Regions from separate parts of the Homo sapiens genome. Here regions 1 and 3 are each linked to region 2. The links are contacts of gene promoters, found by promoter capture Hi-C in blood cells and fetal thymus (Javierre and others, 2016). All regions are on one chromosome and are shown on one strand. The core of a region is centred on a gene start or on the middle of the fragment in contact, and the rest is flanking DNA. Distances in the headings are between cores, read along the strand shown.

Region 1 (3,034 bases), core at 40-2,539, 270 kb after region 2:
TGAAGTCACATGGGATTGCATAACCCATTCCCAACTGCAATGGGCAAACATGAGTGTACATCAGGGCAACTGTAAAGGTGTCATAATCTCTTTTCTCCATCTTTAAAGGACAGGAAGGTCACAGTACACCCACATCAAGCTTAGGGTCAACCAAAAGTCAAGAGGTGAATGAGACATCACCTCGCATCGAGAACCAGAGTGATATTCACAATCTGCAAGGCATGAATTAAGAAACAAAATGAAGAAATTATCTGGGAGCTCACTCATGAGACTGAGTCAACTTCCTCCTGAGTTAGAAGCAACCAGGAATTACAGGAAGATGAAGCAAGTGATCTTTTCAAAGGGAAGTTATGAAGTAACCCTGCAAGGTTCCCCAGCTTCCAAGCCCCTTTTCAAAGGCAGCAGAAATGCCCAAAGCTCAGAGATTCCCCAGGTCCTCACTGAAGCTGGGGAGACAAGAACAGCCCCTCCCAGGCCATCCAAAGCCATAGGCAATGGTTCCAAGACAGGGCTGAGAGCATAAAAGTTACCTGAGTAGCTGATTAAAATGCAGATTCCTGTTCCCAAATTTTTTAGAATAAATAGATGTAATATAGCACTCATAAACCTAAAGGTTCAAATAAATAATACTTCTACATAGGAAATGTCTTATGTGGTCCTCCTGTCTGCCATAAATCTATTTTCCAGAAGCAACTTCTTCTAACAGTTCCCATCTTAGTTCAGTCACCCCAGAAGTCTAGATAGTGTGAGTTTACCTCTGTTTGTGACTTATCAGCTTTATCTAGACCTATTGAGTCCTTTCGGAGAAAAATGAGGGTTTAGCTCACTTATACCACCCACCTCCTATACTTCCAACAGTACATTTTTATTCCTTCTTGAGATTTCTTTTTAATTCTAAAAAAAAAAAATTCTCTTTTGTATTCCATACATTTTCTAATTATTTTCTGCCTTTCTACATAAATGATGAGCATACCTATATCTGTCTTAGTCCATTTTCTGCTGCCATAACAGAATACCACAGACTAGGTAATTTATAAAGAACAGAAGTTTATTTGGCCTGTGGTTCTGGAGACTGGAAAGTTCAACAGCATAGCACTGGCATCTAGCAGAAGGCAGAAGCGAGTTTTGAGAAACACAGAAGTGGGGCCAAACTTATCCATTTATCAGGAGCCCACTCTCAGGATAATTCCCACGACAACAGCATTAATCCATTCATGAGGGCTACTATGAAGGCTTCTTAAAGGCTCCACCTCTCAATACTATTACATTGGCTATTAAATTTCAACATGAGTTTTGGAGGGGACATTCAAGCTACGGCACCATGCTTATACCCCCACCCCTCCTTCTTCCCTCTTTGGCCTCATCCCTTAACACCCCTTCTCTTTAATGTCCACACTCTTAGACTTACTTTGTCCTGCAGTCTCAAATCAGCCTTCTGAGCTTTGTTCCACAGGTCAGTTCCAACAGCCGAAGGCCAGTTAACCTTATTTGCTGTATTAAGGCTATATATATGTATTGTTATCCTAACCAACACCCATGGGGAACTGACTAATACCTGGGGTCTGCCAATGTTACATATATAGTTTACAGGCCAAGCAACATGGTTAAAATCATAGTTTGTACTCTCTTAGTACATGTTATAACCCCTGGGCATTTAAAGAGGAACATTGTTTACCTGAAGATCACATTGTAATATTATATAATATATGTAATATTATGTTGCATCTTATTGTTCTATCTAGACTTTATAATTGTTTTTCTTTCCTCTTTCTCTCTCTCCCTCCTTTCCTTCCTCCCTTCTTTTTTTCTCTCTCAATTCCTTGAATTCTGTGTCTTTATCACATCTTCAAGGAATTTGCATGTTTTTATAATATCCTGATGGTCTTGTCCAGGTTTGTGATATCACTGCTTTAAGGCTTTGGATATAAAGGAAAGAATATGGATATCTGGAGCTTGACAGGCCTTTGAGTCCTGACTCAGCTTCTCACCAACTGGATGATTCAGAACAAACCCCTTCACCAATCTGGGCATTAGCTTAACGTGGAAAATGTAGATAACTAATTCCTTTCCTAACAGTATTGTGAGGTTCTTAAAAAGCAAGAGAATTAAATGCTCTGCATAATTAGAAATGGTGAACAATAATTAGAAGACATTTTCATGACCAGAATCTACTTCTGTTGAGCTCATTCATCACTTTGGACCGGGCCCCTTGTTTGGTGCTGAAGGCACAATGATTAAAGCTCCCTATGCTTGAGGAGCCCCAAGTCTAGAGGGAGACGCAGGCAAGTAAAGAGCCAATCACAATTCTGTGGAATACTTGTGATAATAGGGATAAAATAAAGGGGAGGCTTCAGGAGCAGAAGAAGGGTACCCAAGTCATATTAGTGGATGTTCTCCAGAGAGGAGACCCCAAGCTGAAAACCAAAGGACAAATAAAAATAAGCTTGGTGGCCGGGCACAGTGGCTCACTCTTGTAATCCCAGCACTTTGGGAGGCCAAGGCAGGTGGATCACGAGGTCAGGAGTTCAAGACCAGCCTGGCTAAGATGGTGAAACCCCATCTCTACTAAAAATACCAAAAAAAACAAAAAAAAAATAGCCAGGTGTGGTGGCAGACGCCTGTAATCCCAGCTACTCAGGAGGCTGAGGCAGACAATTGCTTGAACCCAGGAGGCGGAGGTTGAGTGACCCGAGATCATGCCACTACACTCCAGCCTGGGCCACAGAGTGAGACTCCATCTCAAATAAATAAATAAATAAATAAGCAAGCTTGGCGCAGAGTATTTGGGGATGTGGGGGTGGTGGTGTAGGCACCAGTACTGAGCCTAGGAGCACTTCAGGCCTTAAAACATCTGGTGAGTTTCCACAGCCTTAGTGGCTGCCTCCCCCACTTGCTGGGAAAGCCCCGGATCCCTTCTGAAGTCCATGTCAAATTGCCCATCACCTCCCCATCTTCCCAGGGGTACTTCCTGGGACCCTGTCCATCCTTCTCTCTGCAGTGATCCCAGGTTCCTGCCCAGACAAGACTGCAGGGT
Region 2 (2,916 bases), core at 71-2,570:
TGTTTTAAGCACTTTGCATATTTTAACACATTTAATATTCATAGCAACCCTATTTGTGGAAGGTAGTACAGTCTACGGCACGGCAGCTATATCGGCCCCTTTATTTTCCCCAGGGTTTGGAGTCTCTTCCACTTTCCAGCTTGTCCTCCTGCCCTTCACTCTACCCGGGACCATATCCTCCAGATTCTCACAGGTCCCTCCATCTCTCCTCAGGTGCCAGGCTCAGCAACCTGCCCTCATTACCTGCCAGTTCCTGACCCTATCTGTCACTAGCTCCTTACCTGGCTGGATTGGTCTTCTGAATACTTGCCATTCCCTGGCATGATGCTTTTGCAAAATAAGAAAATCAATAATAATAATAATAACTGCTAGTGTCTAATAAGCATGTGCTCTTCAATGTCTATTCTCTTACAACTACCTTAACAAATAGGGACATATTATTATTCTCCTTTTAACTTTGCTTTCCAGAGAAGGAGGCTGGGGCTCAGGGAGATGAGGTGAGTTTTTCCAGGTCTCACAGGAACAGGACTGAAGGAAGGAAGCCATGTTTGCCAGGAGAAACCAAATGGACATACAGGCTTTCTGTGGAATACACAGTTCCTGCTATCTTTTGGTTGACAAAGTCTGAGGTCCTAGGAAAGAGAGGAAAGTAATAGAAATATGAATATGAGTGTGTGTGTATTTTGCTTCCCTCACCAAAGTTTTCACAGTCTATATTAATGAGGGCACGATTTTGCCTGTTTTGTTCTCTGCCATATCCTCATTGTCTAGATTAGGTGCCTGCTACTGTGGAGCTCTAAGAGGTTGTTAGAGAAAGAATAGAAGAAAGAAAAGAAGGAAGGAAGGAAAGAAGGAAGAAAGAAAAGAAAGAGGGAAGGAAGGAAAGAAAGAAGGAAGAATGAAAGGAAAGAAGGATAGAAGGGAGAAAGGAAGGAAAGAAGAAAGAAAGGAAGAAAGGAAAGAAGGAAGGAGGAAGGAGAAGGAGAAAGGGTAGGGTGGGGAAGGAAAGAACAAAGGATTGCTTTTCCCTCACTGTGGGCTTGAGCCTGTTCCCTCCAAAGATACAGAGCTTTGGTCTTTACCCATAAAAAAGGATTTTGAAGTCACCCCACCCCGTTCTGTTCCCCCACAGTTTAGACAAGATCCTCATGCTCCACTGGCCACACGAGTGCCCTCAGGAGGAGTAGACACAGGTGGAGGGAGCTCCTTTTGACCAGCAGAGAAAACAGGATGGGGCACTGCCTCACTGAGGACCTGGGGGTGGGAAGGAAAGTGCCAACGGCAGCTCTATAAAAGCTCCCTGGCCAGGGGACCTAGGGCAAGCAGTGGTTTCTCCTCCTTCCTCCCAGGAAGGGCCAGGAAAATGGCCCTGGTCCTGGAGATCTTCACCCTGCTGGCCTCCATCTGCTGGGTGTCGGCCAATATCTTCGGTAAGTTCTGAGGCCATGGAGCCAGGCGGTGGGGAGGGAGCTCCAGTGTCAGCCAGGCTCTGCCCTGGGCCTTCGAACAGGTGCGATCTAATTTAATCTTCACAAATTCCCACATGTCAGTGATTTGCTTTTTTTTTTTCAGATGAAGAGGCAGATTTAGAGAGCCGAACTGAATTACTTGAGGTCACAGAGCTAGTGATTGATGGAGCAGAAATGGGAAATGTGGTTGATCTTCCTAATTCAATTCTAGGTCCTCCTCACCCCACCATTTTGGCAAACTTTTGGCATTGACCTTGGGTTTTTATCCCCTTAGCTATTCCAAAGTCTGTGTCATCCATAACAGGTATTTTAGAAGCAGTAGAAAAAGAAATCTACCTATGAAGTGAAATAGCCCTAAGTTCTGTCTTTGGCTCAGCCACTTACCCATATGACTTCGGGCAAAGTGCCAAGCTTCTGTTTTTTTTTTTTTTTTTTCATTTAAAAAGTAAACAAATAACACACACCTCATGATGCGGTTGTGATTTCTGGGTAGGACCCTATGTGTTACAAGAGTTCTCAATGGAAAAATAAGTCATGTACATTATTAATTAATTGGTATTTCAATGTTTATCTGGAACATGTTACATCTGCAGGGCATGGCTTGATAGATTCAAGAAGAACTTCCTTACGGTTCTCTAACTTACTCCAAATAGCCTCATGGGAATTGCGGCAGGGTGGGGGCGGGCGGGGAACGTGTAGTCCCAGCGTTGATTTTGGGATCCTTCACTTGCCAGTTACGTGACTTTGGGCAGACGACTTTCGCTGCCTGAGACTTGGTGCCTCATGAGTGACAAGGATATATTGCCTGTCACCTCTTAGGAGAATGTTGCACATTAAATGAGCTAATGTCATACTTGTAAGAAAGTGTGCTTAGCTGCCAAATTTTAAAATAGGCTGTCATAGGTAATGATGATGACCCTGGAAAAGCATCTGTGCTTATGAGAGCCCGTCTCTGTCCTGGCAGCCCAGTCCACACTCTTCTTTGATGAACCACTTTTCTTTTCCTAGAGTACCAGGTGGATGCCCAGCCCCTTCGTCCCTGTGAGCTGCAGAGGGAAACGGCCTTTCTGAAGCAAGCAGACTACGTGCCCCAGTGTGCAGAGGATGGCAGCTTCCAGTAAGGCTTATGTCAGCAGCGAACTCTCAAGGTCCAAGATGCCATAAAAAGCATCTTGTGCCTTCCCCCCTCTTCCTGAGCTCTGCCCTGCAACTCCTTTGTGCATGTGAGGCTTGGCCACTGTCATTTGGAGGTGCCTGCCTTTCAGTTCCACTGTCATTTGGAGGTGCCTGCCTTTCAGTTCCCCAAGCTGTTCAACACTGGACAATCTGACCAAGTGAACCCCAATCCATGCTTCATCCTCCCACTGCCCTCCCTTCTCTTCTTGCCATCACTTTTTCTGTGATGGCTTGAATAAACGGCACGTGTGGGGAGTGGGGCAGGTTGAGG
Region 3 (2,940 bases), core at 84-2,583, 290 kb after region 2:
GAGGGTTACGCTAGACATTTAAGGCTTTGAAGTTGGATGAGATCGCCAAGGGCATGTGTCCTAGACAAGAGTAGAGGCCTGAAGACTGAGCCCTGGGCATCCTAACAGAGGTTCGAAAGATAAAGGGAAACCAGCAAACAATGAAAGCAATGTAGGTGGTGAGACAAAATATCAGTCTCTTTTGAGAGCCAATCTTGGGCAAGTTCATTGACCTGCATTATTTCATCAAATCCCTATTCCAATCTTGTCGGGGAAAGTATCCTACCCATTTTATAGATAAGAGAATTAGAGGCTCAGAGGGAAGAAATTATTCAAGGTATCAAATAGGCAAGAAACAGAGCTAGGATTGAAGCCTTTTTTTGGATGTAAAGAGCATGTTTCTTGGCCTGGCTGGGTTCTTGCCCTGTGCATTATACAAGGTAATATGGAAGCTCATGTTTCTCTTGCCACAGTAATCTCCAGGAAGCAATCCTCAACCACAGCAGAAAGGGAGTTGATTGGTGCATATTTCAGCTTCCTCCATCTTGAGTGAGGCAATTCTGAGGTGTGCCATCCACCTTCTCCCAGAACACCACAGTGGAATTGTGACCTGGTTGCCCATGGTCACTGCTGTGAGTTGACAATGTTCCCTGACTGGTTTCCTTTAAGTCCCTGCCTCACCTGCCCATTCCCTTAGTGGCATTGCTCAGATCACCTGCCTTACAAATCCCTTGCACTCATATTCTTATTGCAGAGGCTGCTTCTGAAGAAACCCAACAGTAGACTCTGGTGTGAAGAACAAAGACACACAGCTTGAGCCTGGGGATGGACACCTCCCAGCAGCCCTGGCTGCCACTCACTGCTGTGCTGCAGCCTGAGGTGTGTGGGGATGGGTGCCGTACACACTGTGTCTGCATGTACAACACACGTGCATCCAGGTGCACATCTATTGGTGGATGTGGGCAGGTGTCCACGTCTGTGTGCCAGCTCAGATGTTAACAGCAGGAAAGGAAAACTGAACCAGCTCCTTATGTAAATATTGGACAACTAGAACACTTTTCTGTTTCTTTGAGTCATTTCAGAGTTTCTGAAACTTTGCCGCCACTCCCCTTGGATGGAGGGTGGGAGTGGAGGTTGGGGGAAAGGAGGTTATTTTTGGCCCGGGGATTTCAGAGCTCCTCCGTTATGTGTGTTTCTCCTCTCTCTCCTGCCCACCGAAGCCCTCAGAGGGGAAGATCTGCTGAAGAGAGGGAGAGGTCCTTGCAGTCCCTTGGCAAATCATGTGCTACCTCTGTGGCTCTGGATAGCAGAGAATTCACTGAAGGACATGAGATGCCGAGTGGCTCCCCCATGCCAACCTACCCCAATGCTCCTAACTCAAGAGAAAAGAGGTGGACAGACACCAGATTCAAAACAGTTCCAGGTTTAAAGACAGAAGCTGTAGGTTTGCAATCTCAGTTTGTGTCCCTGACCATGTCATTCAGCTGCTCTGAGTGCAGGGCTCTTGCCTGTGGAAAGAGGATGAGGAAGCCTGCCCCATGGTCCCTTAGGGTGGCTGTGAGTCTCCCATGAGACTAGCAGCCTGAGGAGGGCATCTGAAAGAACACTTTAGAACCAGATAGATACAGGTTCAAATCTTATCTCTGACATTTCCTTAACCCAACCTTGAGAAGTAAATTAACCTCTCTGAGCCTCTGTATTCCCATCAGTAAAATGGTGATTAAAAATATTTTAATTTTATTTAATTAAATGATGTAACATATAAACTACCCATTAATTCACTGGCAAGTAGAATGTGCTTATAAATGTCTGTTTCCTCCTTTCTATCTACCCTGATACTTCCCAGGACAGTGAAGGAAAATAGAGACGAGTATAGGTAGAAAAATGGGAGGGAAATAGATTTGAGGCATAGAGCATTTTTCTTTGGTTAACCAATGCAGAGGGTTACTAGAGAGTTAATTTAATCCAATATACAAACTTTACTGCCACAGACAATAAGGACAGGTAGAGAATGAAGAGCTGTAATATTCAAAGATTCGTACTACAAATTGACAGGAAAAACACAAACCACCCAATAAAAAATAGGAAAAAGTGTAAAATAAAGCAATCCAAATGAACAATAAACATAGTAAAAGATACTTAAATTCACTAGAAGTCAGGGAAATAAAAATTAATATAAATTTCATGTAATTAATGAGACATTATTTTACATTCATCCAGCTGGCATACCTAAAAAGAGCATTAACACTTGTTGCTGGTAAGTGTTCCATGAAAAGAACGTTTGCATATATTGCTGGTGGAAATGCAAATTGTCACAGCATTTGTATAAATCAATAGGGCAACATCTATTAAAACTGTAAAACATATTAATATGGTTTGGCTCTGTGTTCCCACCCAAATCTCATTTTAAATTTTAATCCCCATGTTTCAGGGGAGGGACCAGGTGGATGGTGATTGGATCATGGGGGCGGATTTCCCCCACGCTGTTCTCGTGACAGTGAGTTCTCACGAGATTTGCTGAATTTTAAGTGTGTGGCCCTTCCCGCTTCGCTCTCTCACTCTTCCTCCTGCTCTGCCATGTGATGAAGGTGCCTTGCTTCCCCTTCGCCTTTCACCAAGATTGTAAGTTTCCTGAGGCCTCCCAGTCATGCTTCCTATTAAGTCTGAAGAATTGTGAGTCAATGAAACCTGCTTTCGTCATAAATTACTCAGACTCAGGTAGTTCTTTGTAGCAGTGTGAGAATGAACTAACACACATATATTCTTTTATCCAGCAATTCTACTTTTGTGACTCAATTCCATAGAAATTAAACATCAGCACATCAAGATACAAACACACACAGTCAGGTGAAGGTTTAAACAAATAATGCTACATTATGCCATGGTGCATTATGTGATTATTTAAGAGACTGTATTTGGATTATATTATTAGATTTCCATAACATATTATTAAGCACTAAA

What was found. The method cuts DNA at HindIII sites, captures the fragments that hold promoters and counts their contacts. A CHiCAGO score of 5 or more calls a contact.
Region 1: a contact is called between a fragment that was not itself captured here and the fragment with the promoter of TG in region 2, in 5 of 17 cell types (M2 macrophages, activated CD4 T cells, naive CD4 T cells and 2 more). The highest score is 7.3, in M2 macrophages.
Region 3: a contact is called between a fragment that was not itself captured here and the fragment with the promoter of TG in region 2, in 1 of 17 cell types (naive CD8 T cells). The highest score is 5.5, in naive CD8 T cells.

The regions. Positions count from the first base shown.
Region 1 is chr8:133,139,480-133,142,513 of GRCh38, forward strand. No RefSeq gene overlaps it. Among named protein-coding and RNA genes, the nearest start is that of SLA, 38 kb to the left of the region's middle. The HindIII fragment of the contact is 2,304 bases long and covers 138-2,441 here.
Region 2 is chr8:132,865,638-132,868,553 of GRCh38, forward strand. It overlaps TG (thyroglobulin), which reads left to right and starts at 1,321. Exons shown (of 48, transcript NM_003235.5): 1 at 1,321-1,430; 2 at 2,478-2,586. The coding sequence starts at 1,364. The HindIII fragment of the contact is 3,355 bases long and covers 1-1,878 here.
Region 3 is chr8:133,157,315-133,160,254 of GRCh38, forward strand. LOC105375769 (a long non-coding RNA gene) reads left to right here. Exons shown (of 3, transcript XR_928667.4): 2 at 734-858. Among named protein-coding and RNA genes, the nearest start is that of CCN4, 32 kb to the right of the region's middle. The HindIII fragment of the contact is 6,458 bases long and covers 1-2,940 here.